4 separate regions of the Homo sapiens genome follow, and all the other regions are linked to region 1. Evidence: promoter capture Hi-C in human tissues and cell types (Jung and others, 2019). All regions are on one chromosome and are shown on one strand. The core of a region is centred on a gene start or on the middle of the fragment in contact, and the rest is flanking DNA. Distances in the headings are between cores, read along the strand shown. Region 1 holds the start of RSPO2 (R-spondin 2). Region 2 has its middle 140 kb from the start of EMC2. Region 3 has its middle 100 kb from the start of EMC2. Region 4 has its middle 73 kb from the start of EMC2.

Region 1 (3,420 bases), core at 536-3,035:
TCACTGATGAGTTTGCCCTTACACTGGTTAGATACCATAGCAAACTTCCTAGTACAAATAGAAAATTGATTGTAAACCAGAACATGTAGAAGTGAAAGAGACCTTGGACAGACTTCCTAAAAATACTGCCAAGGAAACTGAGACCAAGAAAATTGCCCAAAGTGACGCAGGTGATTAATGGTAGCGCTACCTCTGCTTGGTCTTGTGTTTACTTTTGCCTTTAAATATTTTAAAAGACACTGATGACCACTGATCTTGAATGGATCTCAAAGCTTTGCAAGGAGGCAGGGGGGCTTACTTAGGGAAGACTTCCTTTCTCCCATAGATTTAACTCCTTTATAAGTATAATTCATTTGTTGTGTGCATATATGACTATATTTGGAAAGAAGTAGTATTTATGGTGCTGAAGAGATATTCAGCATCATATCAAGATGATCAAGAAATATCAAGTTATGCCAAACACTGGGGCCACTCCCTACACTGAAATGTTTCCAAATTCTGTGATAAAAATCAAAGGCTCAAAAGTCAAGAAACAGATCCACTGTTTCTGCAATGTGTTTTGTGAACTCTATTTGTGCCCTGTGGGCCAGTCTCAGTGATGGATTTTCTTATCTATGAAATGGGACCAATGACCTCAACTCAGATTTACTTGGGTGTTCTCAGGCATGCATCAAAGGCATACTGCTGAAATTCTTAGCACATAAATACCACTATGTAATAGTGAGTCTGTAAAATAGTTATGAATAGGCAATAATGGAATAGTTAATAAATATGAGTATTGCAATATTCTTTTTATATGATTGTCTTTTAAGTCATCAAATTTCTGAACATCTTCTGAAACTGAAGGAATAGAAAAGGGAATTTAAATAGTATAAAATGCTATCATAATAATATGGTAACTGCGGGCATATCTATAGACATTCATACTGCCACGGTTAGTGGCATAAATTCTTATCTTTTGCTTAAGGAATAAATACATTTTTTCCTACAGTAGTGAATGCAGGACAGATTTCACCAGAATGAAATTGGATGGCATCAAGTCTATTTAATGTAACACTTTGTTAAACAGAATATTTTCCCCAAACCCAAAGCACCTAAAAGTTTAATTCAGGAGACTTTGGAAATGAGAGGAGGATTAAGAATGAAAAATACTTTAGTGGGAAGTGAACTTTTTAAAATTATTTTTAAAGAATCAAGGCCCCAACTTCTTCAGCACTTCAGGCAACGGATCACAGGTTTTTGTTTTATTGGAGAAGAAACAAAGTAAATAACAGTTCTGAGGATGAACAAAAGCTGTTGGGAATACCCATTTCACTCCTCAAAGTGGGGGCGCGTTTTATGAATAATTTCAGCCGGCTAACATACCTTCCTGCAAAACACAGACAAGATGTAAATTAAAAAGTGGCAGAGTTGTGGCATATTGCAAAAGTTTAAAGGGAGTCATCAGTCCTTCAGTCAGATCTCCCTGCAGAAAGGTTGGCGCTGAGGTTGGAACTGACCCTAGAGGGCTGGAGAGGACCCCTTGGGGGTGAGCAGCCGGGTTCTGGGACCCAGCAAGGTCAGGGGGCGTCTCCCCAGCTACTCTTTATCTATCCCCCGCACTCTGGAAAGCCCGAAGAGGATTCGCTCCAAGTTAGGCGCGCTGTTGGCTGTCAACGTTCTTTAGGACCTCAGGGAAACCGGGACGTTTCTGGCTTTAGGACCCAGGAACTCCGAGGCAGCCTAGACTTAGATGCCTTGGACCACAGCACCACCTACTTATAGAAGCATCCCAAGCCTCAGCCGGTCTGCATCTCCATCGGAAAGTGCGCTTGCCACATCCCTTCGGATCACTTCGTCCTCCCGAGAGCGTTCTGCCTTCTACAGCTCGGAAAGAAAGAAATCTTAGCTGTGAAGTGACCGTGGAGAAAGCGCAGGAAGCGACACAATTGGTTAGGGAGGCAGAGAGTGTGAGCGGGCGCACCCCTTGCCTGGGGACCGCGCTCGCGGGCGGGGACGGAGCATCCCAGTGGCTGCACCCGCCGCTCCGCGCTCCTGCCTGGCGTCGCCAACCCCGCGGCGGCCGCTGGAATTCCAGAGCTGCCAGGCGCTCCCAGCCGGTCTCGGCAAACTTTTCCCCAGCCCACGTGCTAACCAAGCGGCTCGCTTCCCGAGCCCGGGATGGAGCACCGCGCCTAGGGAGGCCGCGCCGCCCGAGACGTGCGCACGGTAGGCAACCCACACCAAGGCAGCCGCAGCTGCGGCGCTTGGGTACACCGCCGTGGACTCCAAATGGCCTAAGAGCGTTCTTTTAGCCCTGCGCTCTCAGTGCCTTTAGAGTTCTTTCCTTTCCCCGGAGCGCCGGCACAACGCATTATGCCGCTGGGTCGGAGCTTAGGGCTCGGCAGAGGTTGCTAATTCACTGATTATAATCACCTTCCTCTCCAACTCGTCCGCAGCTGCCCGCTCTGGATTAAGCCGCTCCGCGGCTCGTGCTAGGCAGTGGGTTCGCTTCCTCCTTCCCTCTCTTCTTTAAATTGGGACGTGCGAAGGCGCAGCTGCCTCCCCGGGGCTCTCTCCATCCCCCACACACCCTGTTTTCGCTTCTTGTCTCTCAGGTTCGTGGCGGAGAGATGCTGATCGCGCTGAACTGACCGGTGCGGCCCGGGGGTGAGTGGCGAGTCTCCCTCTGAGTCCTCCCCAGCAGCGCGGCCGGCGCCGGCTCTTTGGGCGAACCCTCCAGTTCCTAGACTTTGAGAGGCGTCTCTCCCCCGCCCGACCGCCCAGATGCAGTTTCGCCTTTTCTCCTTTGCCCTCATCATTCTGAACTGCATGGATTACAGCCACTGCCAAGGCAACCGATGGAGACGCAGTAAGCGAGGTGGGTCCCTCTCTGCCAAAGGTGCGTGGTGGGCTTCAGGGGTGGCGTGTGGAGGCGCTCACTCACGCCCTGGCTCCGGGGGCTCAGATGGTCAGGGCTGTGCTCTCCACCCCAGCTTTTGCGGGTCCCCAGTCCCCACCTTTAGGACCCTGGAGCTCTACAAAACACTCTGTTTTCTGTACCCTGGAGGCGCGGGGAGCCGGAGCGAGACGCGCTGGGAGCTCGGCGAGCCGGGCGCCAATCGGGCGCTCAGGGCTAAGTCGTGCGGTCCGCACTCATGTTCGCCGCCCCACCTCCTCATCTAAACTTGTCTCTTTAGGACGTATTTCTTATCTGACATGCATTTTTTTTTTGTCGTCGTTGTTCTTCTCTCTGTCCTCCTAACCATCTTCCCTGTAGCTCATTTGTTTTATCTTCCCCATCCACGTGCGCCCCAAACCCGGCCTCAGATCTCTTCGGACTTGACCTAGCATAGTGTGTGTGTGGTGTGTGGGTGTACCCAAGCGTGTGTCTGTATTCCGGAGCTTGGGAGGGGTACCAAGTCGAGGGGGAGGACCTCC
Region 2 (3,420 bases), core at 398-2,897, 500 kb before region 1:
TGCTCACTTTCCCTCTCCAACATGCTGCCTCCTACTTAACTGCAAATATAATACATTCATGTGTTAATATAAAAATGTGACCAAGTGGATTAAGGTCTACATATTCCATATTTTAAAAATTTGTATTTTTCCAAGGCATTTTTGACCTATATACCGTTTTCTGTGTCACACAGCCATGCATTATTACATGGGCTTGTGGTAACCAGACATATTCATTTTTCCTTTTATTTCTTATAGAGTTACCAGTGATGTGTATGCCTGTGTGATCAGCTTCAGTAGTTTCGGTTTGGGATAGGGGCTCCTCAAGTGGCAGAGAAAATTCTGTCCATTGGTATATTGTTTTTGTTTTTTAATAAAGTTTGGCAGAACAAAATAAGGCTTCTCTGTAAAATATAACAATGCCAAGTTTACACAGCACTCACTTTTGAATTAACCTACAAAGTTTTGGGTTATTTAAAACCAGTTATTTAATGACTTCTCTCTGATAGACATTCTAGAGAGTCTACGGACTAAGAAGATTTTGGCTTGTATATACTAAGAGAACTGACAAAAAGCACTGAGCTGAAGCGAAGAAGTACAAGTCAGAAAGGCCACTGCTAAGAGAACAGATTTGAGTAACTTTTAAATGTTTTCACCAGCAAAAAAGGTGATGTTCGTGGATAATGCCTATGTTAATTAGCTTTATTTAGCCATTCCACAATGTATATGTACATCAAAACATCATGTTGTTTCAAGATCCCTTGGAAAGGAGAAAGTGTGAAATTACTCCAGAGACAAATGCCAGAGGCCACATGAGGAAGAGCACGGACTGTGGAAGCAGGCTGCCGAGTTTGAATGGCAGCTTGGATGCCCACTAGTTACCTGACCTTGGGCAACTTTACCTTTCTGTGCTTCACTTTCTTTCTGTACAAAAAGGGGGTGGTGAGAGCATCTACCTTGTGGGGTTCATGATCAATGTACAAATCCCCAGTTTTCAAAAAAAAATCATGTTTTATACCATAAATACATACAGTTTTTAGAAATAGCAAATAGTTTACAACAAACAAAAACAAGCCAGAAAGAGCATATTTCTGTCAATTACCTATGCTCGTTCACAAGCAGGCAGGGCTACTTTTCTTCACAGTTTGATGTCACCAACCTTCTGATTGTGGCCCCCTGTCTGGAAAAAAAGGGCATTTTTGTGTTCTTATACCATGTGTGAGAACACACCTCCCATGTGAATTTGGTGGTAGCCCTCAGTACAATCCCCTCCATTCTTCCCAGCCTTCCACATATACAAAGCTTCTGCTTTGTGGTCCCTGTGGCACTTTTGTGAATCTGGGGACACTCCAAGTGAATGACTCAGAATGTTTCAGCAGCCAAAACCAGGGCACTGAGCATCTCTGGCCCAGCTGCAGAAACAGCCTGCCATTAGCCAGGTTCTCCTGGAATCTATCCTTCGCCCCCAGATAAACAAAAAGGAAACATAAAGTTTTCACATCACAGCTTGCAACCAAGGGAAATTGTGAAGCAAAGTCTCCCTCTGCAACTCCTTCTGCAGCAGAATTCCAATCCCCTTGACACCAGGCTGGGACTAGAGCTCTGAAAGGAGTGTAAAGCAGCAGAAAGAACACTGTCCTGCAGACTGGGTGCTGGTCCTAGTTCTGCCACCAACTTGCTCCATGACCTTGGGCAAGCCACTGCAATTCTCAGATGTTCAGAAGCTTCACTGTCAAACAAGAGTGGACTCTATGCTTTCTGAGTTTCTTCTGGCTCAGGTATTGCAGGATTCTCTGAGTTCCTGATTAACTGGTTCTTACTAATGTATTACATTATTGTACATTGTAAACAAAAAGCCTCATCATTTATTCTGCCTGTCTCCCATGAGATAGAGAGCACTTTGGGGACAATGTCTGTACTGTCCATTTATGCCCTAAGACCAAGTATAATGTCTGACACATAATAGGTACTCAGGAAAGGGGGCCCAGCTATTTCTTGGCTAGCCAGCAGCTGTAACTGAAGGTCATTTAAGAAGGGAGGATGCTACAGCTGATTTTCAGCAGAAGAGTTACTGTAGAACAGGCCATACTCTGTATTGCATTTCAAATCTTATTTCAGTGGCACTGACTCTACCACTTTATGATCAGCTTTAATTCATCACATTAATATGTTTATCAGTATAATCCATATGTCTATTTGCTTTGTTTTATTTTCAATTTTCTCAACACAAAATGTGTGGGGGAAGGGAGAAAAAACTCCCCTTATGTTGTTAACATTTCAATTTGGAAGTGCTTTTCTTGCTGTGTCATTTAAACAGATCTCACCTTCCAAAAGTAAAAACTAGCCAGAGATGCTATTCTTCATACCCTAGCCCTTCTCTACTAGCTAGTACTGCAATGTATTAATTGGGTTCATTAATTAGTTAATTTGTTAATCAACGGACTTAATGGAAGAAATAATATTACAAAGAAAACATGAGAAAGCAAGAAAACCTGTTGAATCAATAACTTTGGTGGGTCACTAAATAATATTGTGTCCAAATTTCATTACCATTGCCCAGGCTTCTGACAAGTAAACTGTGGCAGTCAACGTGCCAGATTCCCCAAATTAAACATACTTCTTCATAATTAAATATCACAGCTTCATTGTTCCGATAACAAAATTGAAATATTTTCCACCACGATAACATCCTTAGCAGTTAATGTCATTGGAATAGAATGATGTTACCACATGATAATAGGCTCTCAATGCCAAAGTCAAGTTAGACTGTTTATTTTCAAAGCAGATCATTACATTGACTTTTTTTCCATTACCAAGTGATTGATGTAGCTTTAAAGGTGACCAACAAAAATTTCACAAAAAAATGATCTAACGATGGGGTTATGTGCTGAATGATTCAAATACCAAGGGAGATGCCACATATAGCAGCATAGAATCCATTTAAAAATTAACCTTTACCAAACCTTCAGCAGCAGTTTTGCTCTGCAAAATGAGAGCAGCTGCCAGAGGCTCCAAAAGTACCTCAAAACACAATAAAAGCTTGTGTTGACATAGTCCATTTGTCGATAACTATGGAATTCTGGAATAGAACACCTGCCAACAGAGGAACCTGGTGTACAACTAACAGACATGAGCCAACTTATCTTGACAAGCAGCCTGAAGAAAGGTGGCACTACAAATACCAGGCCCCACAAACCAAAGAAAAGCCTTCCCACACCCACACGCCTCCTAGACCACAGCTCTTTCAGCCACTTGGGGATAAAATCCTATCAGTGAGGTCATCTTCAAATACTAAAGACTAACAATGAATACCATTCTCTGAGACTCAAAGAAACTACAAAAGTCCTTTCAGCCAGAACATGCTCAGTGCAAATGATTGCATTATCACATTTTGTCTCTCTGCTTCAGAGGAAGGCAAAGGGAGAGGAGTACTCTCTCTAA
Region 3 (3,420 bases), core at 496-2,995, 460 kb before region 1:
AAAGCAAATGGTGAAGCCAGGATTGGCACCTAGAGAGGCTAACAGTAGGGGTTAAGCCCTTATCCACTACCCCAGAACGCCCTAAAGATATCTACATGACAAAATTTAGCACAGACTAAATGAGTATGATACATTCTTGCAGTTAGTGGTAATAGTACAATGCTCTTTCTCCCTAACAGTCTACTTGTACCTAGATTGGCTAAAGAACTTTGGTATTTTTCACATAACAAATCACTTTTTATCCTCAGAGATGCTCAGCACTTTGCCTCTCATACATAATGCATGATTATGAAGAGAGTACAGGAATTATTTTAAGATGTAATTCTTCATTCTTTAGTTAAACATTATTAATATTCATGTTATTTATGCTCAAGGTTATTTTTTCCTCATTGCTAAAAACATGAGCCATTTTAAAATTATACCCAACTGCAAGTTCTCCAATAAGAAATATCATGATGTATTTACAAGGTGGAAATTATATTTTAAAAAATAAAATAACACTATGTCTTTTAGGCTGCCTAGGCTAATGAAAATACTTTGATTTTAGTCCAGCCAGGATATATCACTGGCAGCTCCAGAATTAGTTTACCTTTTTCCTCAGAAGCTTTAACTTATCACCTTCTGCAATCTACTGTCTGGGAAGTCAAGAATGCAAACTGCATTTCATATCCTTTACACCTCGAGTTTATCTCCCCCCATTTAGATGATGTGATATTCTGCCAAAATTGCAGGATTTAAATGCATTCAGCAGCCTTAGTTCAAGTAACTAATTTTCTCTAAGAAGTTTTTTTTCTTTTTCTTTTACATCAGACATCAGCAGGATATCACTGTATAAACATAAACTGTTAAAGACAGTTTTCAGATTTCAATGACATCATTTTTCTGCCCCACTTAGGAGGTTTTATTTATTTTTAAAAATCATTTTATTTTTATTCTAATAACCAATCACATGGTTTTAAGTGCCCAGTTCAGAGTCTAAAATGGACAATACTTATTAAAGATTTTATTCACATAAAACTAAATCTTTAAAGTATTTATTTGTCTATGAATAGAATTCCTTTGTGCCCTTACCTTGAAAAGGTGGTAAGAACATAGCTAAAAGTCCTGGTTTTCATTTACTTTGATCTCACAAACTTTCCAGAAACCAGAAACATCAAAATATGATCTTTCAATAATATTAACCTGTAGTAGAAAGAAATATGGTTTGAATAGACAAAAGGCCTGTCAAAGTGAAGCCATTGTAGGATTTGGAATTTGTCCCATAAAGACTGAACACAACTAAAAATTACATGAACCTAACTTTAGGGCTGGTGGTGGTGTTTTAACTTCAACATCAGGTCATCACACCAAGACCAATATCTATCAGATGCCCTAACCATTTCTTTCTTGTACTCTTCTCTCTCTCTTTTTTTTCCCCCTGTTGTCTGATTCCTCATCTGGCAGTTGATTTCAGATCTCTCCTTCTGCAAAGAATTCCCTTAGTACACGGTACTTACCTGAGGCAGCTGGCCCCACCATGTGTTTCCGATGCTTGGTAACAGACAGAGTACGGTCCTTTGATTCAAATGAGAAAGGTGCAAGCTTTCAGCAAAATGACTTTCCCTTCCAAACTCATTTCAAAGAAGTTTAAAAATAATATAATGTTAACAAGAAAATGTGTTTTAATGCACAGTGAGTAAGGAAACTCAGATTCAGTTAGGGTGGGATGAAACCCCATTGCCCTTTTCTCTATCTCTCCTCTCAACAAGGGGTCCCATTGTAGGTGCATTTATGACAAGTGGGAAGCAAAGCAGGTTAAATAAAGCTCCATCATCCTAGCCAGAAGATCAACTTTGGGAACATCAGGAAACTAGAAAGTGCTAGGAACAGGAAGGATCTTGGGAAAGTAACCCCATAAAATTATTTATGAACTCCTAGGCTTTTTCTCAAGTTGTATATGCATCGATTGGATCCTAAACAGCTTAACAAACACTATGAGAACTGAACTATGAGATAGGTTCTAGAATGGCCATTGGGTGGTGTGTACATTGGACAGATCAGAAAAGTACTTACAAAGGCTTTGAGAATGAAGCTTACATTGGAACTGCAATTCACAGAAGGCTGGACAGAACTTGTGAGCTAGATAAAATTGGGCCAATTGCCTGCTAAAACAAAAAATATCAACATTCTCCATAGGATTTAAACAAAACCAAGGGTTGCATAATGTAACATTCAAAATATCCAGCCTACAATCTAAAATTATTTGTCATATAAAGAACTAGTAAATCTCAATCTGTATGGAAAAAGACAACCAATAGACAGCAACACTGAAGTGACACAGATGTTGAAATTATCTTACAAAGACCTTATAATAAATAAAGGAGAGCACTCTAGGAATCAAAGAAAAGATTAAAATTCTCAACAACAAAAAAGGGAAGAAGATACTGGGAGAAAGATAACAGAGCCTCATTTTATAGTAATATGTCAAAAGATCTAATACTTGTGCCATTAGAATACCAAAGAAGAGAAAGAGTCCAGTGCTAAAATTTTTTTGAAGATATGATGGCTGTAACTTTGAAAATATGGTGAAACATGTAGATGTACAGATTCAAGAAGCCCAGGAATCCTAAACAAGAGAAACTCAAAGAAATCTATCATAATTAAACCGCTAAAAATTAAGACAAAAAATCTGAAAGTAATCAGAGTAGATGACATATTATTTATAAGAAAACACTTCAGATTAATTGGAAAACATGGAGGTCAGATGCAATTGAATACATTTTAAAGAACTACAACTGTTAACCCAGACTGCTCTACTGTACGCAGTGAAATAGCCTTCAGAAAAAAAAGGTGAAGAAAATGCTTTCCCAATAGAAGACAAATTAAGAGAATACATTATCAGCATATCCATTCTGAAATAATTGATAACAGATATTTCACTGACAGAAAGTAAAATGATAACAGAAGGAAATTTGGAACCATCAGTAATAAAGGAAGAGCAATAGAAATGATAAATATCTATGCAAACATATTATTATATGTGAATATATTATTTTTTCTTCTCATGTTCTTTACATTATTATTGTCATAAGCCTTCTCAAGTGGCTCCCAATGTGGTCCATCCTTACTGGTATTCATGCCCTTGTGTAAATCCCTTTCCTTGAGTGTGGACTAAACCTAATAACTTGATTCTAACAAACACAGCTTGAGCATCCCTAATCTGAAAACTCAAAATCTGAAATGGTCCAAAATTTGAAATTTTGAGTGCCAACATGATGCCACAAGTGGAAAATTCCACACCTGATGTGATGGGTTGCAGTCAAAACTTTGTTTCATGAGCAAAATTATTTCGTGTTTAGACTCGGGTGCCATCTCCATAATATCTCATTATGTATAGGCAAATATTCCAAAATCAAAAAGTATACTGAAATTTGAAACACT
Region 4 (3,420 bases), core at 583-3,082, 430 kb before region 1:
AAATTAAAAATTGAACTGCTATACAATCCAGAAATTTCCACTTCCAGGTATATACACACAAAAAAATGAAGTCAGGATCTCAGACAGATTATCTGCACTCCTATGTTCACTGCGTCATTATTCACAATAGCATAGATGTGGAAACAACCTAAATGTAAATTGATAGATGAATGGATAAAGAAAATATGGCATATAAAATACCACGTGTTCTCACTTGTAAGTGAGAGCTAAATGATGAGAATATATGGACACATAGAGGAGAACAATGCACATTGAGGCCCATCAGAAGGTGGAGGTTGGGAGGAGGGGGGAGGATCAGGAATAATAACTAATGTTTACTAGGCTTAATACCTGGGTGACGAAATAATCTGTAAACAAACCCCCATAACACAAGTTTATCTATGTAACAAACCTGAACATGTACTGCTGAACTTAAAACCTTTTAAAAAATAATTAAAAAAAGAAATTGTGGTATATATTTAATACATACAATGGAATACAATTCAGCCTTTAAAAAGAAGGAAATCTGCCAAATGCAACAAATTTAGATGACTTTGAGGACACTATGATAAGTGAAAGAAGTCAGTCACGGAAGGACAAATACTACATGATTCCACTTATATAAGGTTTCTAAAATAATCTCAAAGAAAGAGAGTAGAATGGTAGTTGACAGGGGATGGGGTTAGGAGGAAATTGGGAGTTGTCAATGAGTATAAAGTTTCAGTTATGCAAGATGAATAAGTTATAGAGATGTGCTCTACAACACAGTGCCTACAACTAACAATACTGTGTTGTGCACGTAAAAATTTTGTTAGGAGGGTAGATCACAGGTTAAGTGTGCTTACTACAAAAACAAACAAAAAAGAGCATAGGGAAACTTTTGGAGGTGATGGATGTGATAACTACTTTGACTGTAGTGATGATTTCAAGGGTATATGCGTTTGTCCAAACTCATTAAATTGTGTATATGAAATATGTGCAGTTTTTTGTGTATCAGTTATATCTCAATAAAGTTGTTTAAAAATAGGCACTTGTAACCACAGCCTATGAACAGAATTTTATTCCAGAGTGTTTTCTGATGTTTTTATCCATCAGTCGAAATTCTACATTTTAGCAGAATCTCTTCCTTTTTTATCTTGAATGTGGGTACAGTTAATACCTTAATTTTTTAAATACTGAAAATTCACTGTGTTGATACCTTATTTTAATTAGCAAAACTTTTAAATAATCCATATTTAAAGTAATTGTTTCAAATTTTAAAATAAACACATATTGCTAATTTTAAAATAAACACATATTTTCCCAACTATATCTGAAGTTGAAACAATAACAACAACAAAAATTAGCTAAACTAGGAAAGGGAGAGATTTAGTTTTCCTCCATGTGCCATGATGGTACTTTTTCACTTGAGATTTCCAAGAAGTCTAAAGTAATAGAAATATCTTTAATCTGACAACTTTAAATGCCTTCTGCATATGTCAAGGAAATGAAAATGCCAAATGATCCACCAGAAATCCCTGCAATGTAAAGCACTATTAGTGGTAAGAACAGCCTCATTAACTGTTGTTGATTTGTGACTATTTGGGAATCCAACTCTGCTGAGGGAGTAAGGGAGACTTTTTTTTTTTTTTGGCTGGCTAAAGGTTTCTTTTCTGCCACCCCTGAGTCAACCTGCTTTATTTTATTTTTTCCAAAACCACCATAAAGCGAAGTTTTGAAAAAGACTTCTTGGAGAAAATGTCTTGAGGAGGGAAGAAAGGATGAGTAGAAAAATAGCATGATCAGCCATGCAGCATTTATATTTCCAAAAACTGTATATATTACTGGAAGATTGAGTTTCTTCCTTCCTTTATGTATTCACCTAAAATTTAGACCAATTAATATGTTATTTAAGTATCTATAATTCATGTTACTGGATTAACCCATGGTGCTGGACATTATAAAAATATTCAGAAAGAAAATTTTGAAAGCAGTTACTTCAGATGGCATTTTATAGGCCTGGGAAGTCGCTGAAGAGATAATAATAATAAATATGAAATAGTTAAATAAAGCCAAGTATGTAATAAATTAAGTCATATAGTTATATGCTTTGATATAAAGTATTATCAAAACTAATTACATAGGACTTAAGTTGTCCCTGAGGCAGAATAGAGAAGACAAGGAAAGGCATCCTAAGCCCTTCAAATAGCAGACCAAGATAAACAGACAAGGAAATTCTCATGAAAAATTTTAAAATGGACTATGAAAATCTTTATCTATCTCTTTCGTTTGATCAGAAGACACTGGAAACCCCCAAGGAAATTCATTATGAGAACCCAAATGGTTATAGCAGTAGTAATAGTAGTGGCCATGACTCTTTAAGCTATATGTATGCATAATTTGATAAAACTGAAAAATGAAGAGTCAAAATTTATAGACCATGGTGAATTTTTGAATAGAAGAATGACAAGCTTGTTCTGTGTTAAAAAAACAAAAAACAACTTTCTGTTGGCACTGCAAAAAGAATGAATAATGAAGGAAGAAGAGGGAAATCAATTAGAATTGTATTTCCCTAGGCTAAAGGGAATATGTATCCGAAGATTTGAACCAAGTTAGTGTCAGTGGAACTAGAAGAAAAGGGGACAATTTAGGAAACAATTCAGATATAGAATCACCAAAAGTTGGAGATTAATTGGCTACAGGCATGCAAAGGAAGATGTTTAAGATAATTTAGAAGGATGTTTAAGATAATTTGGAGGTTTTTTCACCTGAGTTAGTAGGTGGAGCTGCTCTCTGGAAGAAGATAGTAAGTTCAGTTTGAAATAAGTTGAATTTGTCCATTTCTCTATTTTAATTCATAAGAAAAATGTTACATATGATTATATAACATTTTTATGTATAATTATATATTTTTGTGCATATATACATTATATATATAAAATATGTATGTATTCATTGGAGAGAGACACTAATACCTTGGTTATATATATTGCAAGTTATATGTATTACATTTATGCATAATTATATATTTTATGTATATATTATATACATTATACACATTATATACATATATATATTCTAGAGAGACACTAATCACTTGTTTGTTATATATATTGCAAGTATCATCTCCCAGTGGTTTATCTTTTCACTTTATGGTGATTTTTGATGAAGGGAAGTTCTTAATCTTAATCTTAGAATTTATTTGACTTTCGTTTTTCTTTTTTTTTTTTTTTTGGAGACAGGGTCTTGTTCTGTCACCTAGGCTGGAGTGCAGTGGCACAATCATAGCTCACTGAAACCTTGAACTCCCAAGCTCCAGGAATCCTCCTGCCTCAGCTTCCCAAATAGCTAGAACTACAGGTGCATGTCACCACACCCGGCTATTGTTTAGCTTTCTTGATCTGAGGACTAATGTTTTTCAACAACTTAGGGGGTTCTTTT

The links. The method cuts DNA at HindIII sites, captures the fragments that hold promoters and counts their contacts. A contact is called where the count stands out against the background at its distance.
Region 2: a fragment that was not itself captured here is called in contact with the fragment with the promoter of RSPO2 in region 1 in 3 of the 25 tissues and cell types used here (dorsolateral prefrontal cortex, hippocampus and liver).
Region 3: a contact is called between a fragment that was not itself captured here and the fragment with the promoter of RSPO2 in region 1, in 2 of the 25 tissues and cell types used here (mesendoderm cells and thymus).
Region 4: a contact is called between a fragment that was not itself captured here and the fragment with the promoter of RSPO2 in region 1, in 2 of the 25 tissues and cell types used here (H1 embryonic stem cells and mesendoderm cells).

Annotation. Positions count from the first base shown.
Region 1 is chr8:108,081,985-108,085,404 of GRCh38, reverse strand. RSPO2 (R-spondin 2) reads left to right here and starts at 1,785. Exons shown (of 6, transcript NM_178565.5): 1 at 1,785-2,208; 2 at 2,598-2,860. The coding sequence starts at 2,767. RefSeq lists a silencer at 2,754-2,929 and an enhancer at 2,646-3,420. The HindIII fragment of the contact is 6,606 bases long and covers 1-3,420 here.
Region 2 is chr8:108,584,400-108,587,819 of GRCh38, reverse strand. No RefSeq gene overlaps it. Among named protein-coding and RNA genes, the nearest start is that of EMC2, 140 kb to the right of the region's middle. The HindIII fragment of the contact is 5,052 bases long and covers 1-3,420 here.
Region 3 is chr8:108,546,028-108,549,447 of GRCh38, reverse strand. No RefSeq gene overlaps it. Among named protein-coding and RNA genes, the nearest start is that of EMC2, 100 kb to the right of the region's middle. The HindIII fragment of the contact is 4,221 bases long and covers 1-3,420 here.
Region 4 is chr8:108,515,123-108,518,542 of GRCh38, reverse strand. No RefSeq gene overlaps it. Among named protein-coding and RNA genes, the nearest start is that of EMC2, 73 kb to the right of the region's middle. The HindIII fragment of the contact is 4,412 bases long and covers 1-3,420 here.